Regions from separate parts of the Homo sapiens genome. Here region 2 is linked to region 1. The links are contacts of gene promoters, found by promoter capture Hi-C in blood cells and fetal thymus (Javierre and others, 2016). All regions are on one chromosome and are shown on one strand. Each heading gives the region's core, a stretch centred on a gene start or on the middle of the fragment in contact. The rest is flanking DNA. Distances are from core to core; before and after follow the strand shown. Region 1 holds the start of STIM2 (stromal interaction molecule 2). Region 2 overlaps RBPJ (recombination signal binding protein for immunoglobulin kappa J region).

Region 1 (4,294 bases), core at 1,174-3,673:
CAAACTTATTTTAAAGCCCTATGGCACAAACTCATTTTGTGTGATACATCGGATTTTTTTCCAATAAGAATCACCTTTTTCCCCCATGCCTTAAATAAGTATAGAGAAATTTAAGTCTTAAAAGGGATTGTAAATGGCTTATTAAAATTCCATCTGACCAATTTTCTTGATGTGATCTACACAGTATAAAATATACTTATTAGCAGTCAATAAATACTAAATTTTCTGAATTGCTTGCCTTTTTACCAATTACTTTTTCACAGAGCATTAGCCAATTATGTATTAACCACATTTTTCTGCTCGAGAAACCTAGAACCACTTATACCTTCTAGAAGCCTAAATATTCCTGCTCCTTCCCTTCCTGCATGAGGCATTAAATCTTCAAATTATAGTCTTATTTATCAACTTTCCTAATAATCACTATTCTTCACTATACTGTTACTTGCCACATTTTTATTTGGAGAATAAATACTATTCAAGCATAAAGCTGTCTGACCTATCTTCTCACTCAAACTGTACTATGCTCCTAATACTGATTATTCTATAATCACTTTATCCCAGTTACCCAATTGGTAGGTTTGATGTATCAAGTTCCATTTAATAGGGCTTGATATGCTTCAGGGTAAAGTTAAACATGCTGACCATTATGTTCTATACTCTACATCCTCCAAAGCTTTTAAAGTTTACCAACATCCTTCTTCTCTCTAGAATAGTAAATATCCTATCATAGAAATCAGAGAAACTGCTTGGCTTTAAAGAATACAGTTCCTGAGCACTTGTCAGAGAAGCTGTTAGTAACTTCCAGACGCCCGCAGGACTATCATTTTGGTTAAATTAATCACGGGTCATCTTCTGCCACTTTAAACTTTTTAGTCTTACAATTATTGTAGGAAATCTACAGATCTACTTTAAAAATAAGTGAAATACTAAAAAAAAAAAAAAAAACCATTATTTTAGCTCCATTACTTTTCCCAAAGAAATCATTTCAGGGTCCTTATATAATAACTTTTACTTAAACCACAACTGATCAGTTGTACATAACACCGGAAGGCTTTAAAAAGGATACAATTCTGCACTTAACCTTACAAAACACGTTTCCAAGTTTTCAATTATGAGATCGTTCTATATATTAAAAAAAAGGTGCTAGTGCAGTCTATCAGAACTGTGCTGCCAGCTGCAAGCCCCGAGTATGCTGCACTTTGCAAATTTTAGGTATAATTTCTGGTTACCTGCTGAGGTTTCTACACCCTTTGTCACCCAGTGATGCTCCCACCACCAAACACTTTCCATCACCACTTAAAACGGCCTCCTTCCACCCCGCAAAAAATGCACTGTAAACTTAGGCATTTCTGCATACTAACACGGAACCACTAATATCACTAGGTATTATGGCTCTCAAAGAATCCCCTTTAGCAGGCTCCCCTGGGACGCTGTGCTCAAGCGGAGCTTTGAACCGGTGAGACTCGCTGCCAGCTGCCTTTGCAAAAGCAGCACCAGAGGTAGACTCAATACCGCAATGCTGCTGCTGACTTTTTCTAGCAGCCTCAAAAAAAAAAAAAAAAAAAAAATCAGCCCAGTCCCCTGCAGACCCTGCTGGCACTTCTGCAGCACGAAAGAGAAACCACCGCATTGCTCAGCTTGGAAGATCGGAGAGCCCGACTGAAGGGAGGGGAATCAGTGCCGTCGAGAGGCTCGGCGAGGGCGGGGTGTCGGGGTGAAAAGGAAAGACGTCCGGAGTGCAGGGGACCGCGACGAAGCAGCAGGCAGGGCTCCGCATCGCGCCCTGGCCGGAGCCGCGGAATAGCGGACGTCCGGCGGAGATGCTGACCTCTGCACGGGTTGGGGGTCCCATCGCTGCCGGCCGAGCCCCGCCCGCCGCCCCCCGGCCCCTCACCTGTCATGAGCGCCGGGCTATCGCCGGCCGCCGCGGCGGGAGAGGAGGCGGCAGTTGCGGCAGAGCCAGTCGCCCGCCGCCCGCGGAGGTGCCGGGGCACAAGCTCGCATCCGTCCGCCGCTCCGGCTACCAGCAGCCCGAGCACCAGCAACGCAGCCCAGCGCCGCCGCCGCAGCAGCCAGCCCCACGCTGGGCCAGGAGTCGAGGCGGGATGAAGGCGCCGAGGAGAAGCCGGGTGAAAGCGCAGCGGCGCCCCGGCCGCCTGCAGCTCGCCGGCTCCGCGAGGCGCCACCACCGCCGCCGGCGACTCCTCCGGCCGCCCCCGCCGCCTCAGACACGGGCTCCCGCCGGGCGCCAGCCTGGTCCCATCGGCACCGGCGGCCTCCGGAGCTCTGATCCCGGCTGCGTTCATTGGTTCCGGTTATTTAAAAAAAAAAAAAAAAAAGGTGGGGGGTAGAAAGGTACGGCGTCTTCAGGCGGTGCACGACACCCGCGCTGCTGCTGCGGCGAGACCGGGATCCGCTGCTCTGGCGCCGCCAAACACCAACCCCAGCTCCCGCGCCGCCGCCGCCGCGGCGCATCCCCCCGCCCCCTCCGGCCCGCGCTGGTCGTAGTACCACGCTCCGCCGGGACGCCTCCCTCCCCTCGCACATTCGCTCGCATACCAATCCCCCGCCTCCCTCAGGCTCTCCACGGCGCAGGCGCGGCGCTGCTGTACTGCGCGTGCGCGGCATCCCAGCCCCGCCCCGGAGGCGTTCCTAGACGGACGGTAGTACCGTGGGGCGGCTGATAACGCTTTAGCGAGCCGCGAAGATAGGAGGCGGGGAAGAAGGGGGACGTGTACCTCTCCCTCATTCACGGTACCACCGCGAGGGGGAGTGGGGGGCTACAAGGGGACGGAGAGAAGAGTCCAGACGTCCCACATCCTGAGGGCGAGTTTCAGCCTCGTAGAGGGCAGCGAAAGTAATTGCATGGATCAGGAAAATCTTGCAATCGGAAAACAGCAGCGTCCCCGTAATTTCAATATAGGTGGGGCTTACAAGTGGCTGGCTGTTTAGACGCGGTTAGCATAGCTTAGCGTTTTATTTACTTGCCAAACATTTCACAAAGCGCGTGCTATGTGTGAGTGTACCAGGCATTGCTCTAACCGTTTTACACATTTACATGCTATAACTCCAAAATTATCGTTACCCCCTTTTACGAATGAAGAGACTAAGACCTAGAAATGTGAAGTAAGTTGTCCCCAATATCCCACAGCTAATTCATGGGAAATGAGCGAGATTTAGCAGCCACTGAAAAGGCCTATTTAAGAGAATTTACTTTAGCCTCTGACTCTCCTAGGTACATTTACCTGAACTCATCACCTTCCCACCCCCATCCCATCGACTCTGTGCTGTATCCTGAACCGGCTGACAGAACAATGATGTAGACTTGACTTGTTTTCGCCAACCTGGAATGAAGCAAAGCTCTTGTGCACCCAAGATCTGCTCTCTGTTGTAAATCCTGTTCAGACCTGGTCTAATTGGTTTGAATAAATAAAGAACCGGAATCTTTCTCATCCAAACTAGTTGCCAGCATATTTTTAAGGCCACCTCCCTTCAAATTTAAAAGGAAGTGTTGAATGTACTGTCACTATAAATTAAAAGCCCTGGAAATTCACACGCAAGGAGGCATTCTTTCTCCCAGGGGCACAAAATTGTTTAAAATTTGCAGATAGGGTTATTAAACACGAAGATCCTTTTGCTATTGGGTTTTGTTGGTTTCATTCTGCTTATTGGTTTGTTTGCTTGCTTTCTCAAGCCAAGAAGATACTCAAATTACATTCTCCTAAAGTATTTCTTAGGTAGCCTGGCCAAGATAACCACAAATATCGTTTATTGTGGAAGGGCAGATGCACACTTTAGAAAAGAATCAAGGATGTCTTTGAGGCTAAGTCAATCTATCAACAGTTATTTCTCAGCAGACTTCTTGTGGGCATAGTGTTCAGGTGGCAATTCTTTATAGGGCAACCGGGAGATTATATTTCCCCTGCTGAAAGGCACAGCGATGAAGTCACACCAGAGTGCTGAGTGCCCACCAGAGAAGATAATTCTGCTAGGGGACCAGAACAATATAAATAACAAGCTTGTTCCTGCTCTCCAGGAGGCATTTCATTTATTAAATGTTTACTGAGTACCTAGTATGTGCCAGGCAGAGTACTGAGTGGTGAGGGTTAGGCAAGAGAGACACTTGAAAAAGGCAATTAAGTCAGCAGTCAGGGCTATGAGATAAACAGCACAGTCCCATGACTAAGGCATCTTACAATCTTTTTAAGGAGATAAAATGTACACCCATTAAACAATTAGAGGCTAATACAAAGTAGTAATCAGTTGCTAAATGGTGTAGTGCAAACTGTTACAG
Region 2 (4,294 bases), core at 654-3,153, 520 kb after region 1:
CAGAAACTCTCAGTTTGTGCCGTCCTAACTCGCCCTGCTGAAAAAACAGTCACCCTTAGGGATTCACAATAACAAACACAGAATTCATTGCAAGTGTGGCTACAATTTACAAGCAGCCTTTCATTGCTCCATAAAGGCTCATCATTGTAGAAACTCATCAGTTTTTAAGCCACATCCACAGCTGCTGTCTTAGAATAACAACAAAATTTGACAGCAGAGACTTTAAAATGACATTTATACAACAGTTTTACATAAAACAAAAGTACTCCAGTATAATAGAAAGAATGGATGACATGTAGAATACCAAAAAACATGAGAATCTTGAGTCATTGCTAATAGCAATACCTGTCATTTATATAATGCTAGAACCATTTTCCTAAGCTCCCTAGCATGTCAGAGATACCATTACACTGAAGAAAAGTGAAGCAGAGATACTACCCAAATTAATTAGTGGTGAACAGAATGTGTTTCATGACTAGCAACCTGTGTTTTTTGCACAAACCCTTCTTCCAAAATTGTATAGTGAAACAGGGAGACAAAAAAAATTCCACATAAACCTATTCCCTGTTCAACTTTACTCTCCTGCCTCAGATCTATAATCTGCCTGGACTGAGAGGCTTGTCTGGTTAGTGAGCACACTCAATCATGTGTTGTCAGATGACTAAGTTAACCACGCATGGGAGAAAGGAATGAGGAGGGGAAATGCTAGTAGGATCACCACATACTAAATTACACTATCGCTAGCAGATGTTCATACTACAAAGCAGCAATGGAACTGAAATCTGGAGATACAGGTTTGAATTCCATTTCTCCCACCAACTAGCAGGTAAACTTGGTTAAGTTTCTGTAAAACAAGATAATACTACCTCCCTCACCAAACGATGGCAAGGTCTAATGCAACTAGAGACCTCCTGGCTACTAAACACCACATTCCCTTTTTTTTTTTTTTTTTTGATAACCCAGGTGTTCAGCATTTGTACTAATGTATATACTCATCTTTTCTGTCTTCCCTCCTTTTGATACAGAGCAGTGGTTCTCAAAATGAGGTTTCTGGACCAGCAGCAATAGAATCATCCGGGAACTTGCTAGAAACGCAAATTCTTGGAGTTCCACTGCAGACCTTTTGTGTCAGAAACTCTGGAGATGGGGTCCAACCATCTGTGCTTCAGCAAGCCCTCCAGGTGACTCTGATGCCTGCTGAATTTTGCAAGCCACTGTGAGAACTCTGCTTTGGGCAGCCTAGTTTTGCACTATGTCCCATCCCTTCTTGGCTATTCTAGGATGTTGGACTAGCCAGCTACACTTTCTTCTCTCTTGTCTCAATTTTTACCTTTCTACTGAAACATTATTGACAACATACAAACGTGCTGGTATTTCTCCTTTGGACCCCACAATCCCTTCTAGTTCCCTGTTTCTTTGCATCCTTTTACAACAGACCTCTGAAGGGTTCTTTCTGTCTCCAATTTCTCTCCCACTCCATTTAGGTTTTTGTCTCCGTCACTTCAACAAAACTTAACAGTTCCCTCCACGCAGCTAAATGTAGTGGTCAGTTTTGTTTGGTTTTGTTTTCGTTTGGTTTTTTTTTGTTTTGTTTTGTTTTGTTTTGAGATGGAGTCTCACTCTGTCACCCAGGGTGGAGTGCAGTGGTGCAATCTCGGCTCACTGCAACCTCCACCTCCAGGTAACAAGTGATTCTTCTGTCTCAGCCTCTCGTGTAGCTCAGATTACAGGAGCATAGCACCATGCCCAGCTAATTTTTGTATTTTTAGTAGAGACAGGGTTTCACTATGTTGACAGGCTGGTCTCGAACTCCTGACCTCAAGTGATCTGCCTGCCTCAGCCTCCCAAAGTGCTGGGAGTACAGGCATGAGCCACCGCAGCCAGCCAGTGGTCAGCTGTCTTTTACCACATGTTATCTGACTGGATCACTCCCTTCTTGTTGAGCCATCTTCTTTATTTGACTTCTAGGATACTACACTCCTGTTTTCCTTCCTACCCCACTGGCACCTCTTTCTCAGTCTCCTTTGTAGTGTTTTCTCATTTCACCACATTTAAACTTTGGAGTGTCCAGAATGTAGCCCCTGGGTTTTAGCATTACGTTGCCACCAACACAGATCTTGATGATTATGGCTTTAACTACTATTAATATGTTGATGACTCCCAAATTTTTATTCCCAGCCTTGACCTCTTTTCTAAACTCCAAACTTTATATCCAGCTGTCTCAAAAGACATTTCCTCTTGGGCGTCTAAAAAGCATTTCAAACTAGCACATCTAAAATGATTTTTTTCCTTTATGACACTTATTTCAAGGCTTTCACATGCTACCTTTCTTTCTTTTTTTTTTTTCTTTTGTTTTTTTTTGAGACGGAGTCTCACTCTGTTGCCAGGCTGGAGTGCAGTGGCGTGATCTCAGCTCACTGCAACCTCCGCCTCCCGGGTTCAAGCGATTCTCCTGCCTCAGCCTCCCAAGCAGCTGGGATTACAGGTGCCCGCCACCACGCCCAGCTAATTTATTATATTTTTAGTAGAGACGGGGTTTCACCATGTTGGCCAAGATGGTCTCAGTCCTCTGACCTCATTATCCACCCACCTCGGCCTCCCAAAGTGCTGGGATTACAGGCATGAGCTACCCCGCCCGGCCCCAATATGCTGCATTTCTTACTATCAGCATCATCTCTACCTTGAATTGTTGCAGAATCCTCTTAACTTTTCTTTAGCTCTGCTCTTGTTCTTAGTAAAGTTGCTTGAGAGATCCTTCTCAAGATCGTGCAGTAGCTACTCATCTCAAAATAAAAACTAAGTTCCTCTTTGTCTAAAACCTTGCACATTTTGGACCACCGTTTTATCCTTGACTTCAGCTCTTACTGTTCTTCCTCTTACTACTCTGCTCCAACCTGGCAGGTGTTATTCCTTTTGTGTGGAATGCTGTTCTCCCACATACCCACAGGAATCTCTTCCTCCCTCCACGTCTTTCTCAGATATCACCTCTGTGAGGCCTTCCTTGACCATCTTGCCTGCTTTTTATTCCACCTTTTATACCCTTTCCCTGTTTTATTTTTCTCAGTTGCATGCATCACCTTCTAACATAATGTTAATTACTTTTAAAATTTTGTCTTTACTACTAGCATATAGTACTGGTAAGTAGTATGTACTCAATAGGTATTTGCTGAATGAATGAATGAAATGTTCTTTTTTTTTTTTAGATGGAGTCTTGCTCTGTCACCCAGGCTGGAGCGCAATGGCGTGGTCTCACCTCACTGCAACCTCCGCATCCCGGGTTCAAGCAATTCTCCTGCCTGAGCCTCCCAAGTAGCTGGTATTACAGGCAACCGCCATCATGCCCGGCTAATTTTTGTATTTTTGTAGACACAGGGTTTCACCATGTTGGCCAGGCTGGTCTTAAACTCCTGACCTCAGGTGATCCGCCCACCTTGGTCTCCCAAAGTACTGGGATTACAGGCATGAGCCACTGCCTGACCAGAAGTGTTCTAATGTAACTTTTTGAATGCTCTTTTTCTCACTGATTTGGAGTGTTACTTTTACACACTGTATGTTACAGAGGTTTTTTTTGTTCGTTTGTTTTTTGAAACAGAGTCTAACTTTGTCACCCAGGCTGGAGGGCAGTGGCACGATCTCAGCTCACTGCAAACTCCGCCTCCCAGATTCAAGTGATTCTCCTGCCTCAGCATCCCGAGTAACTGGGATTACAGGCGGCCACCACCACACCCAGCTAATTTTTGTATTTTTAGTAGAGATGGGGTTTCACCATGTCGGCCAGGCTAGTCTCGAACTCCTGACCGCAAGTGATCAGCTCGCCTTGGCCTCCCAAAGTGCTGGGATTACAGGCATGAACCCCGGACTGTTAACAACGAAATTGAAATCTGGAGATACGGGTTTGAATTCCAATTCTCCTACCAACTCGCAGGTAAACTTGGTTAAGTTTCTGTAAAACAAGGTAATACTACCTCCCTCACCAAACTATGGCAAGGTCTGAACGCAACTAGAGACCTCCTGGGTACTAAACACCACGTTCAAGTAACAGATTATATTTGAAACACACAATATAATTATATTTGAAACACACAATATAAAAATATAAGGCTGGCACAGTGGCTCACACCTGTAATCCCAGCATTTTGGGAGGCCAAGGTGGGCAGACGGCTTGAGACCAGGAGGTCCAGACCAGCCTGGGCAACATGGCAAAACCCCGTCTCTAAAAAAAATACAAAAAATTAGCCAGGCATGGTGGCGCACAGCTGTAGTTCCAACTACTCAGGAGGTTGAGACTGCAGTG

The links. The method cuts DNA at HindIII sites, captures the fragments that hold promoters and counts their contacts. A CHiCAGO score of 5 or more calls a contact.
Region 2: a fragment that was not itself captured here is called in contact with the fragment with the promoter of STIM2 in region 1 in 1 of 17 cell types (neutrophils); the score reaches 5.7 in neutrophils.

Annotation. Positions count from the first base shown.
Region 1 is chr4:26,858,970-26,863,263 of GRCh38, reverse strand. It overlaps STIM2 (stromal interaction molecule 2), which reads right to left and starts at 2,423. Exons shown (of 12, transcript NM_020860.4): 1 at 1,895-2,423. The coding sequence starts at 2,045. STIM2-AS1 (STIM2 antisense RNA 1) reads left to right here and starts at 2,665. Exons shown (of 2, transcript NR_134674.1): 1 at 2,665-2,754; 2 at 3,236-3,640. RefSeq lists silencers at 1,727-2,296, 2,307-2,676 and an enhancer at 2,767-2,866. The HindIII fragment of the contact is 3,345 bases long and covers 676-4,020 here.
Region 2 is chr4:26,338,925-26,343,218 of GRCh38, reverse strand. The region is part of intron 1 of RBPJ (recombination signal binding protein for immunoglobulin kappa J region); the gene reads right to left. Among named protein-coding and RNA genes, the nearest start is that of RBPJ, 20 kb to the right of the region's middle. The HindIII fragment of the contact is 9,248 bases long and covers 1-4,294 here.